4 separate regions of the Homo sapiens genome follow, and regions 1, 3 and 4 are each linked to region 2. Evidence: promoter capture Hi-C in 16 types of primary human blood cells and fetal thymus (Javierre and others, 2016). All regions are on one chromosome and are shown on one strand. Each heading gives the region's core, a stretch centred on a gene start or on the middle of the fragment in contact. The rest is flanking DNA. Distances are from core to core; before and after follow the strand shown. Region 1 has its middle 72 kb from the start of XCR1. Region 2 holds the start of CCR5 (C-C motif chemokine receptor 5). Region 3 overlaps FYCO1 (FYVE and coiled-coil domain autophagy adaptor 1). Region 4 overlaps FYCO1 (FYVE and coiled-coil domain autophagy adaptor 1).

Region 1 (3,076 bases), core at 224-2,723, 270 kb after region 2:
GGAAAAATAATCCTTTTTTATTTTTATTTTATTTCAATAGTTTTCGGGGAACAGGTGGTTACAGGGATAGATTCTTTAGTAGTAATTTCTGAGATTTTGCTGCACCTGTCACCCAAGCAGTACACTGTGCCCAGTGTTTAGTCTTTTATCCCTTACCACCCTTGCACCCTTGAGAAATAATCTTTTTAAAAAGCAAATAAAAGCTGACTGGAAGGGGCTGAGGCTTCCAACATGGGAGTAACATCTTAGAGCAGGGGTCTCCTTGAATTGGTTTGACTTCTCCCACTCTCACAGAAGAAAGCAAGATTTACCCATCAGCACCCCCTTCCACAGCCAGAGAGCTCACAGTCACACCTTCTCATTCGCAGAAGGACCCCAGTCCCCCATTTACTTCAACTTAACAACCCAACCTAGAATGCATAAATAGAAATGAGCTGCCACAAACACCATTCACTCAGGAAAAGAAAAGGACCAAGATAAGTCAACAGAACAAATGAACTTGGAGGAGGTAGAACAAGGAAAGGAAAAAGAACTAAGTAAAAACCTTAAACTCTAATTATCCTCTTGGAGAACCAAGATGATACGTCCGTAAAACAAAACCCACACTTTGGGAGGCCAAGGCAGGTGGATCACGAGGTCAAGAGATTGAGACCATTCTGGCCAACATGGTGAAACCTCGTCTCTACTAAAAATACAAAAATTATCTGGGCATGGTGGTGGGCACCTGTAATCCCAGCTACTCAGGAGGCTGAGGCAGGAGAATTGCTTGAACCCGGGAGGCAAAAGTTGCAGTGAGCCCAGGTCACGCCACTGCACTCCAGCCTGGTGACAGACCGAGACTCTGTCAAAAAAAAAAAAAAAAAAAAAAATCTTCTATTAAAAAGGAGCAGTTGAAAACCAAGAGTTTGTTCTAAATCCCTTTTAAAATATATTTACTTTTTATTATCACAAATATAATACATTCAATTTTTTTGAAACCAAAAGTCAAAGACAGAAAAAATACATTAAAAATTCAAGAAGAACTTGCAGAATACAGAGTAAAATGACCAAAATAAAATGGGTAATTGGAGAAAAAAAATACATAGGGTCAATTTAGGTGGCTCAACATTTACATTGCAGGAATTTCAGAAAAGGAGAAGAAGGAAAACAGAAAGCAGAAAATTATCAAAGAAACAATTGAAAAAAATCTCCCGGAGTTGAAGAAAGATATAAGCTTTGGATTGAAAGACCCCAAGCACTGAGCACAATGAACAAAGAGTGATCCATAGAAATAACCTCTTGGAATTTCAGAGCACCAACAATCTAAGGAGATCCTAAACACTCTCAGAGAGAAACAAGAAACAAATAAACAACAAAAGAATAAGAACCAACTTTGGGAGGCCAAGGCAGGTAGATGACTTGAAGTCAGGAGTTTGAGACCAGCTTGGCCAACATGACAAAACCCCGTCCTATTAAAAATACAAAAGTTAGCTGGGTGTGGAGGCAGGCACCTGTAATCCCAACTACTCCAGAGGCTGAGGCAGGAGAATCACTTGAACCCAGGAGGTGGAGGTTGCAGTGAGATGAGATCACACCACTGCATTCCAGCCTGGACAACAAAGACTCCATCTCAAAAAAAAAAAAAAAAAAGAATAAGAACCAGATTGGCATCTTTCTCATTAGCAGTTTGCACCTCTGAAACAGAGAGGAGTTAGCTTTAAGGATTCTCAGACCCTGTTTAACTCAAAAGCTTATGAATCCAAATTTCTAGCAAGTGTGAGCATTGCCATTGAGATCATGCGACCCTGGCAATCTTGATGACAAAAATGGCTGGGCTCTATTTTCTGTTGTTGTTGGACAAGAATCTCCCTTGATATCTGAAGCTAAGAAGTGCTAAGAACCTCATGCTCCTCCAACAGCATTGCAATAACTTGCTCCAACAGAAGGCCAAGTCCACATAGATTAACCTTGATGTTCACGTAGAAAAAGGCCAAAGACCTCACACACTGAAGGCCAGCAATCCCCTGCAAGCCCTGCTCCAGCCCTTGAAGAAGCCAGCAATCATTTGGGCTGTGGCCTCCCACAGAGGAGTGAGTCTTCTCTGTTTTGCAAGAAAAGCAGGAAGTATGTTGAAAGTCATAACCACAGCAAAAAACTGCCACATCAAACTGAGAGGTGCTCTCTAAACATGGAGATATCATTCACCACCAGGAACCCAGATGAAAGTAAATCCCACTGTCCACAGAGTTACTTACACACCTGTTCATGTCTTGGCCAGGATTTTATCTAAAATGAAGTTCTGTGTGTAGTAGGTTATTAATAAAAGCAAAACAAAGAGAAACAGAAACTTCTACCCTCACCTGTCCAAGAGAAGCCACACTCGTGGTGAGATCCTGTAACAAATGACAATTAATTTGACCTTTCTAACTGGAGTGTCTGGAATTGTGGGGTCAGGTTTTGAAGATGAGAGGCTGTAACTAAGAAATATCCACTAGCTGTTAGTAGAGAGTCTACAACCTTGCCTTTTAAAGTGTAGTTCTCAGAGCAGCAGCAGCAGCTGCTGCAGCACCAGGAGGCTTTATGAGACACAGAGTCTTAGGCCACAAGCCAGACTGCCTTTCACCAAAATCTCCAGAGGATACATTTGGGCATTAAAGTTTGAGAGGTGCTGGTGTACAAGACCTGGGTGGATGTGGATGTGCATGTGCTGGGAGGGACCCTTCTTGGAATTTTGTACCAAAGATTGTGACCCTCTTAGGCAATCAAGTCTGAGTCATAGAGGAGGCCCCAGAAATTCAGCCTAGAAACGCCTGTGTTTAAAAACAGAAGGCCATGGCTTCCAGGAAGGATGATCTATTTTATAATACCGTAAGGTTTCAAAATGACTACAGCCCCCTTATCCGCCTCCACTGAGCTCCACACCGTCGTCTACCCTGACACTCTTGGTGCTGGAGACATAGGGGTCCGGAGCAAGGCAATCACAGGGGACAGGAACCTTGCTTTTTGAGACCCTGGGCCCCAGAACAGCTCTAGCCAAGGCTCCCACACCCCTCATTCTAGAAATGAGGGTTTTCTAGAAAGTCAGGCCTGCATGCAG
Region 2 (3,048 bases), core at 1-2,500:
GCACTATGAGCAAGCCAGTAATAATTAAGAGGCCTCGAGGGCACATACTGGATGCCAATCACTGTTCTAAGCATCATACCCATTCATTCATTTAATCCTTAGGGCAACCTTATGAGGCAGGAAATATTTTTCACATTTTGCAGACAAGGACCTTGAAGCACAGAGAGGGTGAGTAACTTGCTCAAAGCCACACAGCTAGTAAGCAACCGATTTTGAATGCGGGAAGCCTGCACTCTTAACTACCATGCTACCCTCCCTCTCAGTCCTCGAAAAGAGAATTAAAAGGCAAGACCATCAGATGTTTGGTGACATGATGTAGTCAGAGTGAAATGGCCGGGTGCCCAAGTCCCAGGGAAGGTCATAGATGACAACAGCCAATTGTAAAATCCTCACATTTTCTGTGAAGTTTGTGTTTGTAGTTTCTGAGTTGCCACAATTAAGAGTTGTCATACATACCCAAGAAATAATATAATAAAAAATGTTTCGTCTGCCACCACAGATGAATGTCATGCATTCTGGGTAGTTTAGTCTTATAACCAGCTGTCTTGCCTAGTCTATTTAAGTTCAGCTGCTCTAGCTGAGAATTTTCTCTTATTAAACCCTGTGAGTCTCAAACTCCCTGCACCTTAGACTAGGCAGCTGAGAGAAGCCCCTAGAAAAGCTCATTTTTAATTTTGAACCATAAAGAATTATATACTAACTGTGCCATGAAACTGATATATTAGAGGAAAATTTTATTTGGCGTTTGTAATTTAATATTAATTTTGACCATTTTTAGGCTTCCCTCTTGTCTGGAGGAAAAAGAAAAAAGAGAACCAGACTTAGACACAACTTCTTGTGGGCACATATTCAGAAGGCATCTCACTGGAGAGGGTTTAGTTCTCCTTAGCAGAAGATAAGATTTCAAGATTTCAGCTAAGACTCATCTCTCTGCAAATCTTTCTTTTGAGAGGTAAGGATTGTTAGTTATTAAAATACTATTGCTCCCTTTAAAGTCTTTCACTCACAATCATGTTTTGTATCTTTGATGTTATAACCGTCTGAAACTCATTCCAAACTGTGACCCTTTCCTTATCTTAAAGATTATATTTTAAGATAATTGTATGAGCACTTGGTGTTTGCCAAATGTCTTCTATGGGTTTCCTGTAAAGTCTTTTACTCATCTCAGAAGCTAACTAACAGGCCAAGCAGCTGAGAGGTTACTTACCGGGGAGAGTTTCTTGTAGGGGAACGGATGTCTCAGCTCTTCTGGCCAGATGAGCTGTGCAAATCAATCATATAGACAGTATAAAAGTAGGAAATGCTGTTTCTTTTGAAGGAGGGTGGAGTTAAATCATTAAGTGTATTGAAGGCGAAAAGAATCAGAGAACAGTTCTTCTTTTTAAGTTGAGCTTAAAATAAGCTAGAGAATAGATCTCTGGTCTGAAGGTTTATTTACGGGCTTTTCTCACTGGATTATTTTGTTTTTGTTCTCTGCTCATCCCACTACACAGAATCTGTTAGAAAATATAAAGAATAAAGGATATCAGAGCTAGAAGAACATTTACATTCATCTAGTCAAAAGCCCACATTTTAGTAAAAGAAATTACTATCCAAGAAGCAAATGATTTGTACAAGATCACAGGGCTTTTCAACAGTAAGGCTAAAAGGTTAAGAAAATTCTGATTATCTTAAGAGTTGCTATTAATTAAAGCCAACTTAAACCAACTTTAAATGTAGAGGGGGATCCTGGACTTCACATTAACCCTGTGTCCCCTTTTTCTCCACTCTCCCCGTATCCCCTATCCCACCCCAACCCCCACACAGATGCTCACCACCCAATATTATTGTTCTCTGTAAACGGAAACAACCTGTTGTCTAAAGAGTTTTAACTATGGGCTCACGGGTGAGCTAAACAGGTTTCCCATCTTTTTCTGGACCCAGGATCTTAGTGGGGATTTTCACTCTGTTCACTATTTTGTTGCCCTTCAAACCAGTAAGCATTTATGAGGACTCACACTATGCCAGATACATAGGTGGCAGGATTCTTCACTCCAGATATAATCTATCTGAAGCTATGAGAAATTTTCCACATGACATAAGTATATGGTCAAGTTCAGGTTCTTTATGACTATACTATATACAGTCATATCAAGCTCTCTTGGCGGTTGGTGACATCTGAAAATCTCAAGTATTGTCAGCAGAGCTGAGAAGACAGCAGAGAGCTACTCCCGAGCCACAAGATGCCCTCTGGGCTTCCGTGACCTTGGCTCTAGAATAAAAAGCTTTGGCTTGTGATCTCTAAGAAGGCAAATGAGACCCCAAACAGCAAAATTACGTGCCCCCAATCCTACAGAGGCAGACTAACCCAGGGGCTAAGCCAGTGGCCTCTGTAGTCAGACTGCCAAGCTTGAAACCTGTCTTACCCTCAGCTTTCTCGTCTGGGTATTGGGCTGAATGACAGTAGTCATTTCATGAGTTGTTGGGAGGATTCTATGAGGCATCCACGGCCAGCATCTAGCACATACTATGCACTCAGTAAACATCAAACTCTTAGTTACTCTTTCAGCAGTCCTTTGTCAGAGAGAGTTTATTTGATCAAATCCTAATAAAATTGGTTCACCGGAGTCTCTGTCTATAGCAGATTAGTTTCAGCAAACTAGAAGCTGAAAAGGTAAAGCTAATTGCTGGTGCTTGGAGAATAGAAAGAAATGACTGCTTGGGAAAAGCCAGAACAGTATAGAAATAGCCCAGCGATCAAGACACCCCCACCCCCGCCCCATATAGGGACATATGTCTGTGCTACAACAGAGCTCAGTAACATAATCATAACAAGGACAGCGAATCATCGAGAAAATGTTCTAGTTCATCCCATATGTGCAATTCAAAAGGCATTGATTAAGAACTGCAGTCATGCTGCTGGGTTTAACCTCCAGCTTCATTACTGCTACTTGGCTCTGACCAAATTATTGAAGCTCTGTGCCTTAGTTTTCTTAACTGTAGAGTGGAGGTTTTAAAAAAACCCAAATACAAACTTACTCAATATGCCTGTGGTGGAGAGGGAATGAT
Region 3 (2,998 bases), core at 384-2,883, 390 kb after region 2:
GCCGAAATTCTGAGCCTTCCTCTGGACCCAGGCAGGAGACATACAGACAAGAAAGGCAAACTCACCATGGCCTCCACCAATGCAGAGAGCCAGCTCCAGAGAATCATCCGAGACTTGCAAGGTATGGTAGGTTGCTGGGCAGGCTGAGTTTGGTTTTGAGGGACTTGTGGCAGGGCTTTTTGCTGTTGCCAGTTGAAATTCAACCCTTTCATTTTTGTTCACACAACGAGTAATTGGAGTCCTCAGGTCACATCATATTGAAATATTTGGGTCTCAAATATCCACCTTGTGTAAGGCTTGGAAAGCTTGCCTGGTTTCCTTTCAGAGAACTGTAAAGCCAGTTTGTAAACAAAATCATACACCCGGCTCCAGGACTGGGTCTGATTTCCATTAGTGCACACATGTGTGTTTTGAAGCTGCCTGTTAAGTCTTTGGCTAAATCCCAAACTTCTGGGCTCTGATGAAGTTGGCTTCTTTGGAAAAGAATGTTCTTTCTCCCACTGAGCAGGAAGGACAGAGACCCACCTATCTTGTTTTGCTGCCCAACTGGGTCCTGGCTGGCGGATGGCCCATTGCCTGGGATGCACTGTAGGTCCAGTCCTGCTGCCTCCCAGACTTCCCTGAGCTCAGCGTTGTCCACTGAGAGAGGCTATGACTTGTATCCCTTATCTCACTGGAGAAAAGCAAGGCAGAGGAAGGTGCAGATAAAGTTTCATAGACTCAGGAGAAACGGACTATTTTCTTTTTGGCTGCAAATTCCAAGTTTCACTCTTTCAGATGCTGTCCCAGGGGTCAGAGTTTTTATAAGTTTTCCATCCCCACTCATCACCAGTGCTGACCTTTAAGCTCTTCGGAGCTCTAGGACACTTGATACTACACAGTCTGAAGCTGACCACTTCCTCCATGCCTGCAGAGTCCGCTGTGACACTTTTCTGACAGACTAAAGGCCCAGGCTTCTAACTGCTTGGGCACCACAAGCAGTTATCTCCCATACCAGGAGCCATTGGCCTAGCATGGCCACAGTGCAGTTCTCATTCTGAAGTTCCAAAGTCAACAAGATAAAAAACATTTTCTCAGGCTTTTAATCTTGTGTCTACCATGCCTTGGGCCTCTGATAGCTAACAATTTCATGGCATTTCATGTGCACCGGGCACTTTCTATACCAACAGCCTGGCACCAGTCTATGCTCCTAACCACTCTAGTCTACTTTCAGCTAAGACATTAGATGCTTTTTTAAATCTACACAGAGAGGCAGAGAAAGTGAAATGCCAGTCTCTGCAAATCTGAGTTTGCCACTGGCTTTAAGAGGTCTCTCCATAAAGTAGATAGTCTTTTCTGTGTTTCAATATCTGGTTCTTGAGGATAACTTTGAGACCTGGAGGTCCTTATTGGGAGGGAAGAGGGTGAAATAGGGGACCCTCAGGTAGAGCTTCTGATCTAGACCATTGTCTATCCTATGTACCAGCTGAGTCTGGCCACCCCCAACATCCTGGGCTGATTTCAATGTCCTTTACATAGGCCACAGAGCACTTTGGTGGGAATTCTTGAAAGGTGCCACTTTCTCAGTACCCTCCACTTTCATCTGTTGGTAAACGTCTTAATAAGCATACAAATCTACAGCATCTACCATGAGAGTGGAGTGTCCTTAACTGAGGCATCTTTGTGTGGTACACAGCCTTCACTCCTCTGCAGGGCAGCCCACTTATCCTCTTGGTGACAGCAGTTTCAAAGACTTTGGAGTCAGGCAGGGGTGTGCTCAGCTTCTGGCTTCTCTTTTAACCCTCGAAAATGTTGGACAAGTCCCTTCACCTTTCCAACGCACAGTTGCTTCCTTCATGTGCCAGGTGGGTTTGATGATAACACCCACTTCTCAAGATTATTGAAAGAATCAAATAGTAATTCCTGCAAAGCTAATATTACTTAGAATATCAGAGATTAGAGCTGAAAATTTCATATTTCATATCCAGAGTCTACTCCTTCAAAGTTTCAGGAGTTCCCAGATCAGGTTGCGAGTGTTTACCTGGCCTGAGGAGGCAGGAGGGTGGAGGAGGAAGGCTCTTTGTCTCTCCCAGGCCCCTGGCTCACTGGCTGTCAGTGCCAGCCATTGCAGACACTTCTAGCAAGGTACAGTGGACAACAGTCACTTGTAAGAATCAGTCCCAAGAACCTGTCTCCACCATTTGCTAATCTTTGCCTGAGGGGTCGTGTTGATTACATTTTCAGCCATCTTAGGCTTGGCTTCAGTCCTGGACAGGTCTGCTTCAAACCATGGTTCTTGGGAGCAGGGTTTAGGAATTTAAGAATTGCCAGAGAAGCAGATAGTTTTGTGAAGCACATCCCACCATCTCTGCTGGGAAAAGGTTTTCCAGGATCTAAACCAAATCCAGTGTCTCGATAGTCCCTCTGTCCCACAGCAGAGGCAGTGAGTGAGAGTCAAAGGTGGGTTTTCCTCTTTTCTACACAGGGAGGTGAATTATCTTAGAAGTTAAGAGGTGAGCTCTGGAGTTAGACAGCTCTTGAGAAAACCAGGGTTCTTATTCCAGCTCTGCTGTTTGCCACCCATGATCTTTGGCCAAGTGCTCTGATTTCTCTGTACACTCCTCATCTGCAAAATGGGGATAATCATAGCAGACTTCATAGATTCTAAATTGTACTTTTTTTTTTGACATTTTAACAGCTCTGAAACTGTAATGTATATTATAATTAATTGTATCTTAGATTCATCGAAATAAGGCAATCCCTGCCTCTCAATGCCATATTAAATGAGAAAAATACATGTAAAGGCCCAGCCCCTCAAGGACACTCAGTTAACAGAAGCAGGTGCGGTTGTCATTGTTGGAATTGTGATTGTCACTACTATTATTTGCACATACTGGGTATTCTGATCCTGCGCTTACCTATAATGAGCAGTAGGATTATAGTGAAGAACCTGAAATGTGGCTAGAATAAAGGTAAAGCTTTCTGGAAGTCAGTATTCAGGGACTGAATTGATTCATCC
Region 4 (3,171 bases), core at 633-3,132, 410 kb after region 2:
TGTTTAATGGAGCTTTTATTATGTCCCACTGGACCATCCTTGGAAAACCACTGCCTTAGGAAATAGCTGCATTAAAAATGGAGTGGGTGGGGTGAGGAAGACAGCGAGATTCAGCCAGCTCCCTCTGCTATAGACTGAGACACCCTGCAGCACCCAAAACGGAATTCCCTGGGCCTCAGGGGGGCTATCAGGTAGAACAGCTGGCAGTGCAGATTAAGACTGAGTGCCTGCTGTGGGCCCAGGGCCATGCCCCATGTGTAGAGTCCCAAGGACGTGTGGAAGACAGGCCCTCCTCTGTGTGGCCACCTCCAGGAAGCTACACCTCTGTCCTGCCTGTCCTGACTCCTTTCTCCTCCTGCCCATCCTCCCCATCACCAGCCCATGAGCCTTGCCTATCAGGCTTCTCTTGCAAGCCCAGCCCCTGTCCAGGAGCCAAGGGGTGCAGAGTTCTATTCACTTAGGGTGCTTCTGGCAACCTGGGGTCAGCCTGCTTTCCCTCCCAGAATGCCCCTTTGTATGTGGGGGTGAGAGGAGAGTCTCAAAAGCTAGGGGACTGCATAAGCTGTGAGCAGATACCAAGGGGCTCCCCCATGGCGGAGGGCAGTAGCACCCCTCATTAGAGTCCTGGGTGAGCTTAGAGCCCTGGGAAAGCTGGAAGTCCTGGCTAATCAAGAAAACTTACCACTCCTCCCCCAGGACCCAGAAGGAACTCGAAAAAGCCACAACAAAAATCCAAGAGTATTACAACAAACTCTGCCAGGAGGTGACAAATCGTGAGAGGAATGACCAGAAGATGCTTGCTGACCTGGATGACCTCAACAGAACCAAGAAGTATCTCGAGGAGCGGCTGATAGAGCTGCTCAGGTGAGTGCTGTGTCAAACCAGCAGCTGGGGTTTTCCCCACACTGGGGTTTTTCTCTAAAGAAATGCAGCTGTTCTTGAAAGCATACTTCAGAAATTTCCCCACTTTCTTGCTGCTGTCTCAGGAGCCCCTCTCTCCTTCTCCATCTCACTTTCCCCAGTACTAGAGTCCCAAACTCCAGCGCCTGCAGGTACCAGGCAGCTGATACAAGTGGAAGCTTGTATCAGGAGGGGACTGTGAGAAACTGAGGACACAGCTGGGCTCTGCTTCTGCCATATGTCTTGGCCTAGAACTGCCAGACCACCTTACTTCTTGAGAGAAGGTGGAAACCTGGATCTTAATGTGAAGTGTCCTGATTTTTTAATGCTGACAAGTCATTCAAAACTTATTTTAACTTTTCCTTATGGAAATTTTCAAATATACAAAAATGGAATCATGTAATACACCTCCAGGTACCTGTCACCCAGCTTCAACAGTGTTCAGCTCAGGGCCAGTCTTGATTCATCTGTAGACCCACCTGCTTACCCACCTTCCCAGATTATTTTGAAGCAAATCCCAGACATATCATTTCATCCATAAATATTTCAATATGTACCTCTCCAAGGTAAGGACTCTTTTATTTTCTATTTTTTGAATTTTTTTTTTTTTTGAGACAGAGTCTCACTCTGTTGCCCAGGCTTGAGTACAGTGGCGTGATCTTGGCTCACTGCAACCTCTTCCTCCTGCATTCAAGCGATTCTTGTGCCTCAGCCACCCAAGTAGCTGGGATTACAGGCACACACCACCACTCCCAGCTAATTTTTATATTTTTAGTAGAAATAGGCTTCACCATGTTGGCCAGGCTGGTTCTGAATTCCTGGCCCCAAATGATTTGCCTGCCTCAGCCTCCCAAGTCCTGGGAGTACAGGCATGAGCCACCATGCCTGGTGCCAGAACCCTCCATTTTAAACAACCACAGTGTCCTTATTACACCTTAAAAAATGAAGTATAATTTCTTAATATCATCAAGTGTCTAGTCAGTTTCAAATTTTTCCGATTGCCTTAGAATATTTTCAGGTCGTTCTAATCAGGATCTAAATTAGATTCATCTATTGCAATTGCTGTGTCTCTTACATCCCTTTTAGTCAATGGGTTTCCCTATCATCTCTCTACTTTTGCCGATTGCATCCCCATGGTGTCATTTAACATGATCATCCATCCCTTGCATTTCCTGTGAGTCCATAGTTAGAACTATTGCAGTGGTTCTCAATCCTGGCTACATATTAGAATCACTAGGAAAGTAATTTAAAAATGCCCATGTCCAGGCCCCACCAAGACTAACCGAATTGGAATTTCTGGGAGTGAGACTCAGACACCAGTGAGCCAGAGCTGAGAACCATCATTCTACTGGCAGCTTGCTTAGACTCAGGTTCAAAATTTTGGTAAGAAGCCTTCATAGAATTGGTTTGTAGTTTGGGGTCTTTCCTTCAAGAGGCACATACAATCTGATTAGCCCTGTTTTTGTGATGTTAGCAGCACCATGGATCAGCAAAGCCTAGATATGCTAATTCATTAAGTGTTAGAAAACAGTGATATTAAAATTATAACCAATTTGAAAGTTTAAAAACTCTGCCTTCTTATCATCAATATACAGAGTTAGAACTCAGGGTATTTGTGACCTGAGGGGTGTGATGGAAAACACCAGCTCCTGGCAGCATTCCACATTCCCAAAGTTTGGGTGGACCAGCCTAGAGAATGAGGCTGCTTCAGAGAATGAGTCTTCCTGCTTCCTGACAATTTCAAGTGTCCTTGAAAAAGCCAGCCAAGCCCATGTTCAAGCTTTTTTATTTAAGGCAAAAGATCTGGGGTTGATTGGGAGTTCCTGGTCAGTGATGGAGCCTGTCTCTCTCAGGACCTGAGTGGCTCGGGTGTCACATTACCGGTGGCTGAGGTGCTGCTAGAGCCACGTTAGCCCTGAGGATGCTAGCTGGGGCTCCATACGAGAAAGAACTAAACTTCACATGTCAGAAACCATCAAGCCTGAACATGCTCATTAGTATCCCTGAGGAAGCCTCTGTTCACATCCTCCCCCTCCAGTGCATCAGGCACATTCTGACACTGCCAGACCTTTCTGGAAAGCCTCACACTTCTTTGAGTCTGGCTTCTTGGAGTGACCTTACCATCTCTCTGAGGGGCAGAGGAGGCTAACATCTGATCAGATTTTCACACTAGGAAATCTTTGATCTTCTCCACTGATTAATTGTTACTTGGATCAACCATAGAAACATAAAGGGCCCCAAGCACATTAAGATTCAGGTGGGAAGTACATT

Evidence for each region. Contacts are between HindIII fragments. The CHiCAGO score rates a contact against its expected background, and 5 or more counts as called.
Region 1: a fragment that was not itself captured here is called in contact with the fragment with the promoter of CCR5 in region 2 in 7 of 17 cell types (M0 macrophages, total CD8 T cells, M1 macrophages and 4 more); the score reaches 16.4 in M0 macrophages.
Region 3: a fragment that was not itself captured here is called in contact with the fragment with the promoter of CCR5 in region 2 in 1 of 17 cell types (neutrophils); the score reaches 6.5 in neutrophils.
Region 4: a fragment that was not itself captured here is called in contact with the fragment with the promoter of CCR5 in region 2 in 1 of 17 cell types (total B cells); the score reaches 5.7 in total B cells.

The regions. Positions count from the first base shown.
Region 1 is chr3:46,097,640-46,100,715 of GRCh38, reverse strand. No RefSeq gene overlaps it. Among named protein-coding and RNA genes, the nearest start is that of XCR1, 72 kb to the right of the region's middle. RefSeq lists an enhancer at 2,967-3,076. The HindIII fragment of the contact is 516 bases long and covers 1,216-1,731 here.
Region 2 is chr3:46,369,148-46,372,195 of GRCh38, reverse strand. CCR5 (C-C motif chemokine receptor 5) reads right to left here and starts at 1,250. Exons shown (of 2, transcript NM_001394783.1): 1 at 1,208-1,250. It overlaps CCR5AS (CCR5 antisense RNA), which reads left to right. Exons shown (of 4, transcript NR_125406.2): 3 at 779-952. The HindIII fragment of the contact is 2,671 bases long and covers 1-2,266 here.
Region 3 is chr3:45,981,979-45,984,976 of GRCh38, reverse strand. It overlaps FYCO1 (FYVE and coiled-coil domain autophagy adaptor 1), which reads left to right. Exons shown (of 18, transcript NM_024513.4): 2 at 1-121. The coding sequence starts at 67. Among named protein-coding and RNA genes, the nearest start is that of FYCO1, 12 kb to the left of the region's middle. The HindIII fragment of the contact is 2,652 bases long and covers 308-2,959 here.
Region 4 is chr3:45,959,918-45,963,088 of GRCh38, reverse strand. FYCO1 (FYVE and coiled-coil domain autophagy adaptor 1) reads left to right here. Exons shown (of 18, transcript NM_024513.4): 11 at 697-864. Among named protein-coding and RNA genes, the nearest start is that of CXCR6, 18 kb to the right of the region's middle. RefSeq lists an enhancer at 942-1,131. The HindIII fragment of the contact is 1,601 bases long and covers 1,082-2,682 here.